3 separate regions of the Homo sapiens genome follow, and all the other regions are linked to region 3. Evidence: promoter capture Hi-C in 16 types of primary human blood cells and fetal thymus (Javierre and others, 2016). All regions are on one chromosome and are shown on one strand. Each heading gives the region's core, a stretch centred on a gene start or on the middle of the fragment in contact. The rest is flanking DNA. Distances are from core to core; before and after follow the strand shown. Region 1 overlaps COPG2 (coat protein complex I subunit gamma 2). Region 2 has its middle 14 kb from the start of MESTIT1. Region 3 holds the start of CPA2 (carboxypeptidase A2).

The links. The method cuts DNA at HindIII sites, captures the fragments that hold promoters and counts their contacts. A CHiCAGO score of 5 or more calls a contact.
Region 1: a fragment that was not itself captured here is called in contact with the fragment with the promoter of CPA2 in region 3 in 5 of 17 cell types (megakaryocytes, M0 macrophages, naive CD4 T cells and 2 more); the score reaches 7.7 in megakaryocytes.
Region 2: a contact is called between a fragment that was not itself captured here and the fragment with the promoter of CPA2 in region 3, in 1 of 17 cell types (megakaryocytes). The highest score is 5.1, in megakaryocytes.

The regions. Positions count from the first base shown.
Region 1 is chr7:130,508,074-130,511,742 of GRCh38, reverse strand. COPG2 (coat protein complex I subunit gamma 2) reads left to right here. Exons shown (of 24, transcript NM_012133.6): 21 at 3,084-3,181. Among named protein-coding and RNA genes, the nearest start is that of MIR335, 14 kb to the right of the region's middle. The HindIII fragment of the contact is 1,333 bases long and covers 751-2,083 here.
Region 2 is chr7:130,475,001-130,479,131 of GRCh38, reverse strand. No RefSeq gene overlaps it. Among named protein-coding and RNA genes, the nearest start is that of MESTIT1, 14 kb to the left of the region's middle. The HindIII fragment of the contact is 5,266 bases long and covers 1-4,131 here.
Region 3 is chr7:130,264,646-130,268,704 of GRCh38, reverse strand. It overlaps CPA2 (carboxypeptidase A2), which reads right to left and starts at 1,842. Exons shown (of 11, transcript NM_001869.3): 1 at 1,753-1,842. The coding sequence starts at 1,823. The HindIII fragment of the contact is 5,023 bases long and covers 1-3,134 here.

The DNA.
Region 1 (3,669 bases), core at 168-2,667, 240 kb before region 3:
TAAATCTTTATTCCACACCTGCTCTGCCAGTAGGCCCTTCCTTATGTAATATTTTCTTTCCTTTGCTTCCAGTCTCTTATTTCATACTCTCTTATGACTTTTGGCCCAGCAATGCTGTCTTACCTTCCTGTTGATGTGTGTCATTCCTTAGTGACCAACTCCTTTTCATCTGAGGACAACTCTAATGTTGCTTTCCAGTACCATTCCTCCTTCCCTTTCTGAATTTGTCCTAGAGAAAAACTCCCTCCCACCATTTGTACAGCATTCCCACAGACTCAACACGATTTTCCAGGTAGGTGTGTATTGCTTATTTTGGCACTCACTGCCCAGCTTTCCTCGATGTCCTACACACTATGCTGCACCCATTGCTTCTCAGTTCAGTCCAGACCTGCATAGACTGCTGCAGTTAGCCTGTACAGATCCATCTCTTTTGCCTTCTTTCTAATCTTTTGCCCTAGTGACATACCCTTTTCTTTAATTATTATTCTAACAAAGCTTTCTGGAAATACCTCATAAGTGTCTCTTACTTTGTCATGGTCTCCCCCAGGTGGTTGAGACCTGGCAGCTCCCTCCCACCTTTCCCACTCTGCCCTTTGCCACACTGCATTTTCTGTACCCTGGCCCAACTCACATGTCCCTCTCCTGTCTTAGCTGCCAGCATCTATCTTTTCTCTAATTCGCTGGGTTCTTTTCATACAAATCTCCTTAGTGGTTGACTCTCATTTTCAGTGAATCCTCACAAGACAAGCTTAATTTCAGAGAACAGTTTTAATGCAGATCTTCAGGGCATTCTTTCCTGATTCTCTTTGGTATTTGCCTTGCTTTGTCTGTGTAACTCTCATATTTACATTATGGCAGTGCATTCAGTATTTTCTTGCCATGGAAAGGCCCCCGCATCTTGCCTCCTCGCCCCATTTCGTCATCCTCTCCAGCAGCTTCGACAGATTACTGCCTAGACTTCCTTAGATCCCTGTAACCTCTCATTGTATCAATCAAACCATTTAAGTAAAAAAATTCCCACTAAGGTTTCAGGAACATTATCTCTACTAACACCATTCCTATTTACTTCCTTAATCTCTTTCTCTGTATCAGGTCCTTATATGTAAGTGTCTTCTGTCTTTACCTCCACATAAAACTCAGCCCCTGTGCCCAGTCTGTGATCTGCCTTCATACCTGATGTTGTCTCTTTGTCCTCCTCATTTGCTGTAGCCTCTCTGCTTAATTGGAACCACACTGGGTTGCTATAATTAATGTCTCTCCTGACTCTTCATTCTAACTTGATCATGACCTTTTCCCCTACCATATTCTGTATCTCTTTCATGGTTTAAAAAAAATGCCTCACCTGACCTGTTCTGGCCTTGTGTTAACTTTCACTTCTTTCCCCTTCTCTCTGAAGAAAATCCTATCCTAATTAAACCACAGTCGTTCTTTTCTCAACCCCTAATGGCATTGAAATTGATTCTGCAGGCTTGATAGGTTCATTCTTTCCTATATGGGAAAACCCACTGCCATCGTCTGTTTTCAGCATATTCTGTTGAATCCATCTGCTCTCTGAATTCAGACCCATTCTTCATAGTCCCCACCAGTGGCTTAAATTAGGCACCTTATCTAGCTTATCTCTAACCTTTCAATCTCTTGACTGCCTCAGCTCACCAGAGCCTGTTGGAAAATCATTTGAAATACAAGGTATTTTACAATTTATTCCTAAACAAATTATCTTCTCAGCACCTAGGCATTAGCATGCCTCTTACTGTTTCCAGCTGCCCGGTGGACTTTCTGGCCTCTTTCCTTTTGCCTGTTTGTACATCTTCCTCTGCTTGCCAAAGCTCTTTTGCATCTTTTGAGAGCCAGTTAAACTATTATATCGTTTCACATTTTTTACAGTTTTCCCAGGCTATTTGTTAATCCCGCACCCTCACATGGCACTCTCTTAAAACTTAAAGGATCTATGGCATTGAGTTGTAAAGTCATAGATAGATCACACACACACACAGCCCACACACTTATTTAACTCCTAGACAGCTCCTAGAGACAGAGATCATGTCTCAGTCATCTTTTTATCCAAGTGTCTGGCACATAAGCTTATACCTTTACGTGTAATGTCAACATGTATTGACAGTCACTACATGTGTGGATGGATGAATGGATGGAATTTAAAGTCAAGACTGAGCAGATGAAAGTCTTATTACCCAATCTGTCGTATATGGTCTTCACATCTGAGCCTGTTCTTTCCTCTCCTTGCCTATCCCCCAAATAACTTTTTAACTCTCCCAATATCTAATATTTTTTGTACCTATAAGCTTTTTCCAGACCATAGACAAGATCCTAAATGCCTTTTCTTCATCCCTGCTTGCTAAATCCCCTCCTTCAAACATTTCAGAAAATACTGTCTTTACTTTTTATAAAGACTTCACTTTCCAAAAATGTACCCCCACCTCCATTTCTTATTACTTAACACCACTTGTGTGAAAACATACAACTGCCCACTTGCTTTTCCATTTAAGACACTGACTTTACCAATACTAGAAACTCATTACTGACCTACTCACTTTAGGCTGAAGGTTGACAGATAAAGCAAGTTCTCTCTGGTGATCTGTGGACCCGCCATCAGTCCACAATCTAAAGATAGTATTGAGATGCTGATGAGATTGGTCAATGTTAATCTGATGATCTGTATGCTTTTTACCACAGGTTTTTTTTTTGTTTTTTTTTTTGGTCAGGTCCTACAGCAGTGGTTCTCAAAATATTTATTTTTCAACATTTAGGCCCCTTTGATAGGCATGGCAAAAAGCCCCCAAAAGTACCTCTCTGCTGCTTTCTTCATACCAATAGAGAAACAGTCTGCCCATGTTATCATTTCTGTACTGCTGTAACCCACAGCGTGGAATAGACTTTACATTCATGCTTTGTGAGACTGCCTTCCTGACCCGCTTGTAGGCTGCTTTTGAGAACCACTACCCCAGACAACAGGGCATGTGTGTTTAACTGGAAAATGTGGAACACAGTGCTGAGTACAGATGGAATGATGGAAACGTCTCCCTTGCACTCCCCACTGATGCAGGTTTGCCTCCCTTCTCCTCCAGTTGCAGGCTCCTTTAGCTGCACCATGAAGTTTACAGTCCGGGACTGTGACCCTAACACTGGAGTTCCAGATGAGGATGGGTATGATGATGAGTATGTGGTGAGTCTTCCCAGCATAGAGACTTTCTTTGACACCTTCACAACACTAAGTGACTTCTGCCTTGAGAGAACATTTTTCTAGGAGCATCTGACATAAACTTAAGGGATTTCTATTCTTCTGAAACAGATGACAAATTAGGAGGACCTGGACTAACCCTCCTCTGTAACTGGACAGCACCAGGCCAGAGAGAATTGAGATTTACCACTTCATCATTAAAACAAACTCACCCTTTTTTTTCTTTATAATAGGGATAATTAAGAGATGAAAATAATGACATGATTTTCATTGAGATCAGTTTTATTTAAAATGATTTGGGGAGGGGGTTGGTTTTGTTTTTTGGTTTTTTGTTTTTGCTTCAGCAGCTGTTAGTTTATAGCCAGATCATGGATTAAAAAGCCTTCACAGAATGGAGGGAAAACTTTTTTTAAAAAATATCAACCTCTTAGTGAATGATCAGAGGGTACCGTGTGCCCAGAACTCAGTGGTCA
Region 2 (4,131 bases), core at 657-3,156, 210 kb before region 3:
CAGATGCAGGAATTCTCAGCAAATTTATGGCAAGTTGAATGTAGCAATATATAAATGGATGACCTAGTATAAACAAATGGTGTTCATCCCAGGGATCTTGAAATTGTTTTAACATTCAAAAATCAATTAATATAGCTCACCATATTAACAGACTGAAAAAGAAAAAGCAATCTCAATAGATTCAGGAAAGCATTTGGCAAAATTCAAACTCCATTCTTGATCAAAACTCTCAGGTAATGGGTATACAAAAAGCCCAGACTTCCCCCCTACACAATATATTCACGTAAGAACACTGCACTTTACCCCCTTTATTTATAAAAATTTAAAAAAAATTTTAAACTCTTAGCAAACTGAAAATAGAAGAAATCTTCCTCAATCTGATAAAGGACATGTATTAAAAACCTACAACTAACATTATTCTTGATACATTCTCCCCTAATACAGAGAACATGGCAAGAATTGAATCTGAATAGAATCTTCACAATTCTATTCAGCATTGTACTGGAGGCCCTAGCCAATGGAATAGTGCAAGACAAAGAAATAAAAGGCATACACACTGGAAAGGAAGAAGTAAAACTCCTCCTACTTACATACGACAAGATTGCATATGTTGAAAATCCTAAGGAACTTACAAAAAACCCACCAGAACCAATAAGTAAGTTTGGCAAGATTGTAGAACATGAGGTTAATATACAAAATCAATTGTATCTCTATTTACTAACAATGAATAATTAGAAATTGTATTTTAAACAATACCACTTACAATAACATCAAAAAATATGGAATACTTATAGAAAAATTAAATAAAATGTTACAAGATCTGTACACTGAGAACATTACTGAGAAAAATCAAGGAAGATCTAAATAAGTGAAGAGTTATACCATGTTCATGGATTGGAAAGCTCAATACTGTTAAAATGTCAATTCTTTCAAAATTGACCCGTAGATTCAACATAATCACAATGAAAATTTGGGCAGGCTTTTTTTGTAGAAAATAACAAGCCGATTCTAAAGTTTATGTGAAAATGCAAATGAGTAGGTGGGACTATAGGCTCATACCACCATACCCAGATAATTCTGGACTGACTCTAAATGGACTTGCTTGGACATATACCCTTCCCTGAACACTGGGACTCTAATGACCAGGCCTGGGTCACAGGAACCATGCTTGGAGCTGAGTAGCAACAGGGTGGTATCAGCCCCACACTGAATAGTGGTTCCTAAAAAGAGAAAAGAAAAAAGAGAAAAAAAAGAGGCCCTGATAGAATAAAGGCACTGACAAGCAAACACAGCTGATGACTATTATGATGCACTACTTTGGGAATCAGGACAAAAATATATATTTTTTAATCTTTAGAATAACTGAGCCCAAGGCAACATGCTTTGGTGCTCTTTTAACAGAGCATAACATAAAGGAAGAGAGATGCATTCCTTGGTCCACATATCAGTGTCCTCTGAGATGGACTGAAGAAGAGCTAAGAAGATGCGACCCAAGAGCTAAGAAGAGCTACAAAGATGCCACTCCTTCCTTGCCAAAACAGAACATAACCTGTAGAATGAGGTGGAGGTAAGATTGGGCTTGGAGGGGATTGGTAAAGTCCCTTAAAAAGAAATGGCATAGGAAGTTGGCTAAAGATGAGTAAAGGATTTCTGAGCCAAGTCAAGCTGCAGGATGGAACCATTCTGGGCCATGGGGTTGGCTGAAACTCTTGTGGGGTCACTTTGTGCACCATGAGTATTTGAGCTCCTGGATGGAGACATCGCATTTCTGAAGTGGCAGACTCATTTTGCCTGATGGTAAGTAATTTTAAACATTTTAATATCAATACAAAAGGAATCTATTATAAAGTAGAATGCAAACACTGAATGCATTTTTAACACAAAATACACATTTCTTGCTTGCAGTGATCCCTTCAGACTGCTTTCATTTTTCTCCTTTGCATGTTTTCAGTCTTCGCTCTTAGGAATACTTTGTTGGAAAAAATTTGAAAAAATGCCTCCTTAAAAAGTAAGGGCTGGGATCAGGGATGTTCTTGAGATTTTTACAGTGTCCAGACACTTTGCCAGAAGAGGAAACCAGGCAAGTATTCAGAATGAAAAGGTTTGGGATTCTGAGGACAAGGCTAACACCTGGTGGGGTTGGCAGAACCGATGTAAGCCTATGAATGAGGGACTGAGGTTTGGAAGCTGCTCACACAAACCTTAAGAGCAGCTGCGTTCCTGGGGAACATCTCATGTGCAAAGTATGGGATCCTGCCCTGGCTTGAGGTCTGGACTAGCATCTCTTGGTAGGAGTAGGAATCTAGTGTTCTTGGAGAGGCAGATTCATTTCTGGGGTCAGGGGAAGTTCATCTTAAAACCAGCTCTAGTGAACCAGCTTTTAGTTTCAGAATTGGTGGAAGAGAGAGATAAAACCCACAGGTTTCGAGTTCACAGGTATAATAAAACACAAGAGCTCAAGAAAGGGCCATAAAAATAAAAAGACATTTTAATACCACAAAAGCGAGAAGGACAAAATAGAAATGACTACCCTTCCCCAGAAAAAGTTCATTCACTGGCACCTGGCCTTATTTTTTTTCCTTTCATTACTGGCCAGAAAAAAACTTCCTCACAGACTACATCATCCGAGGGACCAGGAACCACTGAAGAACAGGCGGGGTGCTCCTCTCATGCATTCTAGGATGACAGGAAAATTACCCCAGGATGACTCTATTCAAAGATGGGCTGAACGAACAGCTTCTGGCCATCAGCACGAAACCTGCAGCCTGACCACAAGAGGTCCAAAGATACTCCCGTGTCTGTCTCTCCTGTTTGGGGCCCTCTGGAAATTTTAATCAATAAGTCTTGATTATCATAGAGGCTTTTAAAGCACAGAAAATGAGGCAGGTGGAGTGAAGTGGGAGAATTAAATTGGCAATATAGCTTCTTCGACTGAAGCAGTTGAAAAAATTAAATAATTACAATGCCAAAGGCAAAGAAGAAAAAGAAAAAGGAAAAAAAAATACAATCAGCCTACACCCGGAGCATTAGGTTCTGAAAATCCAATTTGCACATAAAAAGTCGAAGGGTCTTTGCTGAGGGGGCAGGGGCTGAGGACTCACTAGTGAGCAGGGGACCGTTGCCCTGGAGACAGGTCTTAGCTTGGAAATGGCAAATAGGAAAATTACAAGGGCTTCAGGGAGAAAGAGGGAAAGAAAGGCACGACTTAGGATGGTTGAAATCTTAGAACCCAGACGAGACTACATAAAAGCAACGTACTTAAAAGGACGAATACAGATTTAACTGCTCTAATAAATGAAGACAGGAATGAGGAGGCTATTTTAGTTAATATTTGGTGGTTAAAATGGGTGATCAGGCACTTAAGGACTTTAACAGAAGAGAGAAGGGAAATTTGTTAGGAGCAGAAACCGGGACACACTTGCCTGTTTCCTTGCCTCTACCCAAGAGGGTACTATTGAAATGCTCCTTCAGACAGCCATTGATAGAGAAATAAGAGTAAATATTATTTCACAGAGCATCCTCCTTAGCGCCTCTGACAATAATCTGAGGTGGCAGATGCAAGAGGGGGAAGTCTGGAGCTATTAGTGCAAAATGCACCCATATTAATTGGCCAGTTCCAAGGCAAGGCAATGATTGAGGGGGAACGGCTTGGGAAACTATGGCTAGGAGGTTTCAGGGTTAAGACTTTGCAAGAGTTGGTCTGGACACAACCCCCTGCAAAGTGGTTAAGGGTTTTGGTACTGAATTTGGATCCCCAAGAGGCCAGAGCTAGAGAAGGGACTCCTGCCTGGGTGACACGGAGCATGAAGAGCCAGTGAGATGGGGTCAAAGGACTCAGAGATAAGACAAAACCAAGGAGGGCTGGGCGCGGTGGCTCACGCCTGTAATCCCAGCACTTTGGGAAGCTGAGGCGGGCAGATTACTTGCGATCAGGACTTCGAGACAGCCTGGCCAACATTTTGAAACCCTGTCTCTACACTAAAAATACAAAAATTAGCCGGGTGTGGTGGTGCACGCATGTAACCCCAGCTAATTGGGAAGCTGAGGCAGGAGAATCGCTTCAACCTGGGAGGCAGAAGTTGCAGTGAGCCAAGATCATGCCACTGCACTCCAGCCTGGGCGACAGAGCAA
Region 3 (4,059 bases), core at 593-3,092:
ATGAATAGGTGTACCTGCTCCTAGCAGGAAGCCTGCCATTAAAGTTACCTTTCCCATAGCTAATGAGTCAAATAAAACCTGCTGCTTGTGGAGTGTTATAGCTTTTAATACTTGCCTGTTCCTGTTGTTCAGAAGTAAGTTTTTAAAAAGTGGAATAATTTGGTGCTTGTAAGAGGAAACAATTCATATGTGGGTAGTCCTAAGATTTTGTTTTTAATGGTTTTGGGGGTTTTGTTTGTTCTTTGATTTTGTCAACTGAAAATGTATCAAGGTTCCATCCCCAGACCCCATTCATGGGGCCCAAACATGGGGCATGGCCAGAGATAGTTGGGACCCTGACAAATTATGTGCCGTGCCTCTCTTTACAAACACACACACACACACACACACACACACACACACACACACCCCCTTAATAGGGAATGAAGGATGAACAGGAAAGAGAAATCTCAAAACAATCAAGCACATCTCTTTAGGAAGAGTTCCCTTGGTGACAGAGTTTCCCCTTCTAGCCTTTCTCCACGTAGGCAGACTTCCTAAGTCACTGCCCCAACTGTTTGTGCAGTGGGGAAGGAATCAATACAATGAGCCATGTACAGGGACCAGAATATGGGTCTTCTGAAACCAAGCTCCATGCAATTTCCTACGAACTCCAGTGGAATACAGAAGTGATGGAATGTGAGCTCTTCGAGGCTCACCTGCCACAAATGGTCTGAAAATTCTTCCATTTAAGTCTCATTATTTTCGGTTAATGCATGGACTCCCAGGAGTCCTCCTTTAAAATGGGAAGGCACTGAGAAAAGTAATACAACAGGGTCATATTTCCTGGTGTGTGTTCTAAAGAATAGTAGTTCTTTGAGTTACTCAGTGAAAGAAAGAAAGAAAGAAAGAAAGAAAGAAAGAAAGAAAGAAAGAAAGAAAGAAAGAAAGAGAAAGAAAGAAAGAAAGAGAAAGAGAAAGAAAGAAAGGGCAAGCTGGGAGCAGTAGGTAGTTTATGATTAAAAAAAAGAGTACATGCTGCAACCTAGATCCCCTCTTATAGATTTATAATGCACACTGATTTAGCCAAGGCTCCTAGAAATCCTATAGTTTGTTTAATCCTCTGATTCCCACATTTATTTGACCAGTGGCTTTTTGGGACCAAACTTATTTGATTGCTTTCTTAGCTCCCTGGACCACTCTTCAAAAAATGCTGCCTGAAACCCTTCATAGAATCATGAAGCAAAGTACTTTGGAGCAAAGATGAGTCCTCCAAAGCCAGGAGAGGAGGAGTTGAGCTGAAATCTATAGCCCTGGCCTTTCTACTTCATGAGGTTCCACCACCTAGGTGCTGAATCTAAAGATCGGGGGTTAGGGCACAAGGGCTAACGTGGATGGTAAAGCCCAGAAGAGCAGGAGGAGGTGGGAGAGTAGCATTGACACCCGCTGAGTTGCCTGGAACAAATGGCCACACAGCTGTATTTTCCCTGATGTCTATCATCCCTACAGTCTGATCACTGGAGGGAAAAATGAGTAAGGACAGAGAGAAATAGGGTTATGTGTGTTCAGTTTTCACTTTTGTCTTTTCCTTTAAATGTCATTCACCTCCTTTTTGATCATCCACTCCTTTTTTTCACACTATTGACTTATCCCCAAATCTAAGAGAACTTCTCTGAAAACACTGAACACTTATACCCATTTACTCTGTAACAATCAAAGCCTCCATCAATCAGGTAAGTAAAATTCAAAGAAGCACCAGAAAGCATAACTTACCCCACAAATGTTTCTAGACAGTAGATATGCCCAAAAAGGGCACCAAAAAACAGGATCAACCTCATGGCCATGGGTTTTCCTGGAGTCCAGAATTCAGAGTCCTTCCTGAACTTTATTTGTAGGGATGGCAGCTGAGGGTGATCTGCTGGCCTTCTGAGAACTCACGTGAATTCCCACATGGGAAAATTCCCACCTGCATGTGAAATTCTCAAGGTTGTAGACATCCACCTGTGTGATATCACCAATGTGTACATGTTCCATTCCTAGGATAAGATAACAAACTTTGATGGAAAGAGAACAAAATTGCTAGAGCATACCAAGGGCAATATAGTTATGATTGAGACCATAAAACGCCACTAGCTACCCTGTGATAGAAGCCAGATTAATAGACCTAGAGGTTAAAGTCTTTTCTGGGTCTCTGACACACACACAAAAAAAAGGCCAGAGCATTTATAGTAATTACTCAGGCATCCTGTCTATCACATTCCATTAGTTTGCTCATTTGTTTATTTTTATAATGTTTACCTTGAAACACTGCAGTCACTCAGTCCACATCTGCTGAGTGTCCCTGTAGATGTGGCCCATTCCAATCCTCACTCTACATTAAAACAAAACAGAAGGCCTTTTAATATTCAATTTTGCACTTTCTCGAAAGTGATCCATCTGCATTTGCACCAAATTGATATCCCTCTTTCTGTGCTTTTTCCCAAAATGAAAATGTCTTTCTGATGACATTTCCTATAACAAGCAACAATGAAGTTGCTTGTTATAAAAAGTGTGAATTAAAAGAAAGTGTTTTCTTTAACCATCAATAATTCTTCCATCCAAAGAAAACCATTTGGCATATGTCTTTCCAAATTTCTTTCTCTGCTTTCGAGTTTTTTTCTTAAACAAAGATTAGACCATATCACGTATACTGTTCTTTAAACAAAGGTGATCTTTTCTTGTTCATAAACATAGATCTACATTAATCTGACTTTGTTCTTCATTGCTTAAGAAGAAAATATAACTGCTTATTTTTAGAAACCATAGTTTATTTAATTTTAGTTGTTCATACACGTTATATTAAGCCTAGAAAGCCTCAACCACAACAAGCAGCAAGGAAATTTTCGTCTGTCCTTTGTGTGTCAAATTTATCAGCACACACTTTAAATCTCTGGGTTTGCATTCTCAAATATCTGCTTTAAGGGGAAAGGTATATACACAGTGTTTCTGATTTTAAGAATGACTGGATTAACTTGGTTTTTCATTCTCCTGGGAGTCAGAGAGAAGACAGAAACCAAAAGGCAGAGGCCATAATTCATCCTCATGTCTCCAGCACCTATCAAATAAACAGTAGTTCAATAAACTGGAAGTATGTACTTGGAGAATCAATAAAAGCTTCCTGGAAAAAATCAAGTTTCAGGCTGGGCTCAGTGGCTCACGCCTGTAATCCCAGCACTTTGGGAGGCCAAGGCAGGTGGATCACGAGGTCAGGAGATCGAGACCATCCTGGCTAGCATGGTGAAACTCCGTCTCTACTAAAAATACAAAAAGTTAGCCGGGTGTGGTGGCGGGAGCCTGTAGTCCCAGCTACTCAGGAGGCTGAGGCAGGAGAATGGTGTGAACCCGGGAGGCAGAGCTTGCAGTGAGCCCAGATGGCACCACTGCGCTCCAGCCTAGGCAACAGAGTGAGACTCCGTCTCAAAAAAAAAAAAAAAAAAATGGAGTTTGAGCTGAGCCTTTGTGCCAAGGCAAATGTGAAAAGAGCCTGGATTTCTGGTGGTAAGAAAATATAAGCTAGACAGGGAACCAGGGGAGAGCACATGATACACAGCTGGGTTAAGGAGGAAACTTAGCCTAGCAGAGCAGAGACTTGAACCTGGGAGTGGTGGGGAAGGTAAAATACCAGAAGGTGGGCTAGAGGGCAAAGGATCTCACAATCCAAACAGAGGAGTACACACCAGATGATATGGAGAGCCTTGGAAGGTTTCTAAGCAGGTAACTGATTGATGAGGGCAATGCTGAAAATGGTGAACCTTGCAGGATGGTGCCTGGCAGAGATCCTCTAAGCAGGGAGCCAAATATGAGCCTCTTGGGGAAACCGAGATTTAGGATGCTACATCTGGACTTGTGGATGGCAGAGGAAATGTCTGAGATGGCCTTGAAGAGAGATTTCAGTGGAAGAAACACAAGCCTGTGGTGAGTAATTGGTGCATGACTGGATATAGAAGGAGAAGGTGGGGAAAGGAAGTTCCAGCCCGTGTTAAAGGAGGGATAGGTAGCCACCTCCATGGTTGCCCCCACAACATCTCCCCATCCATTGTG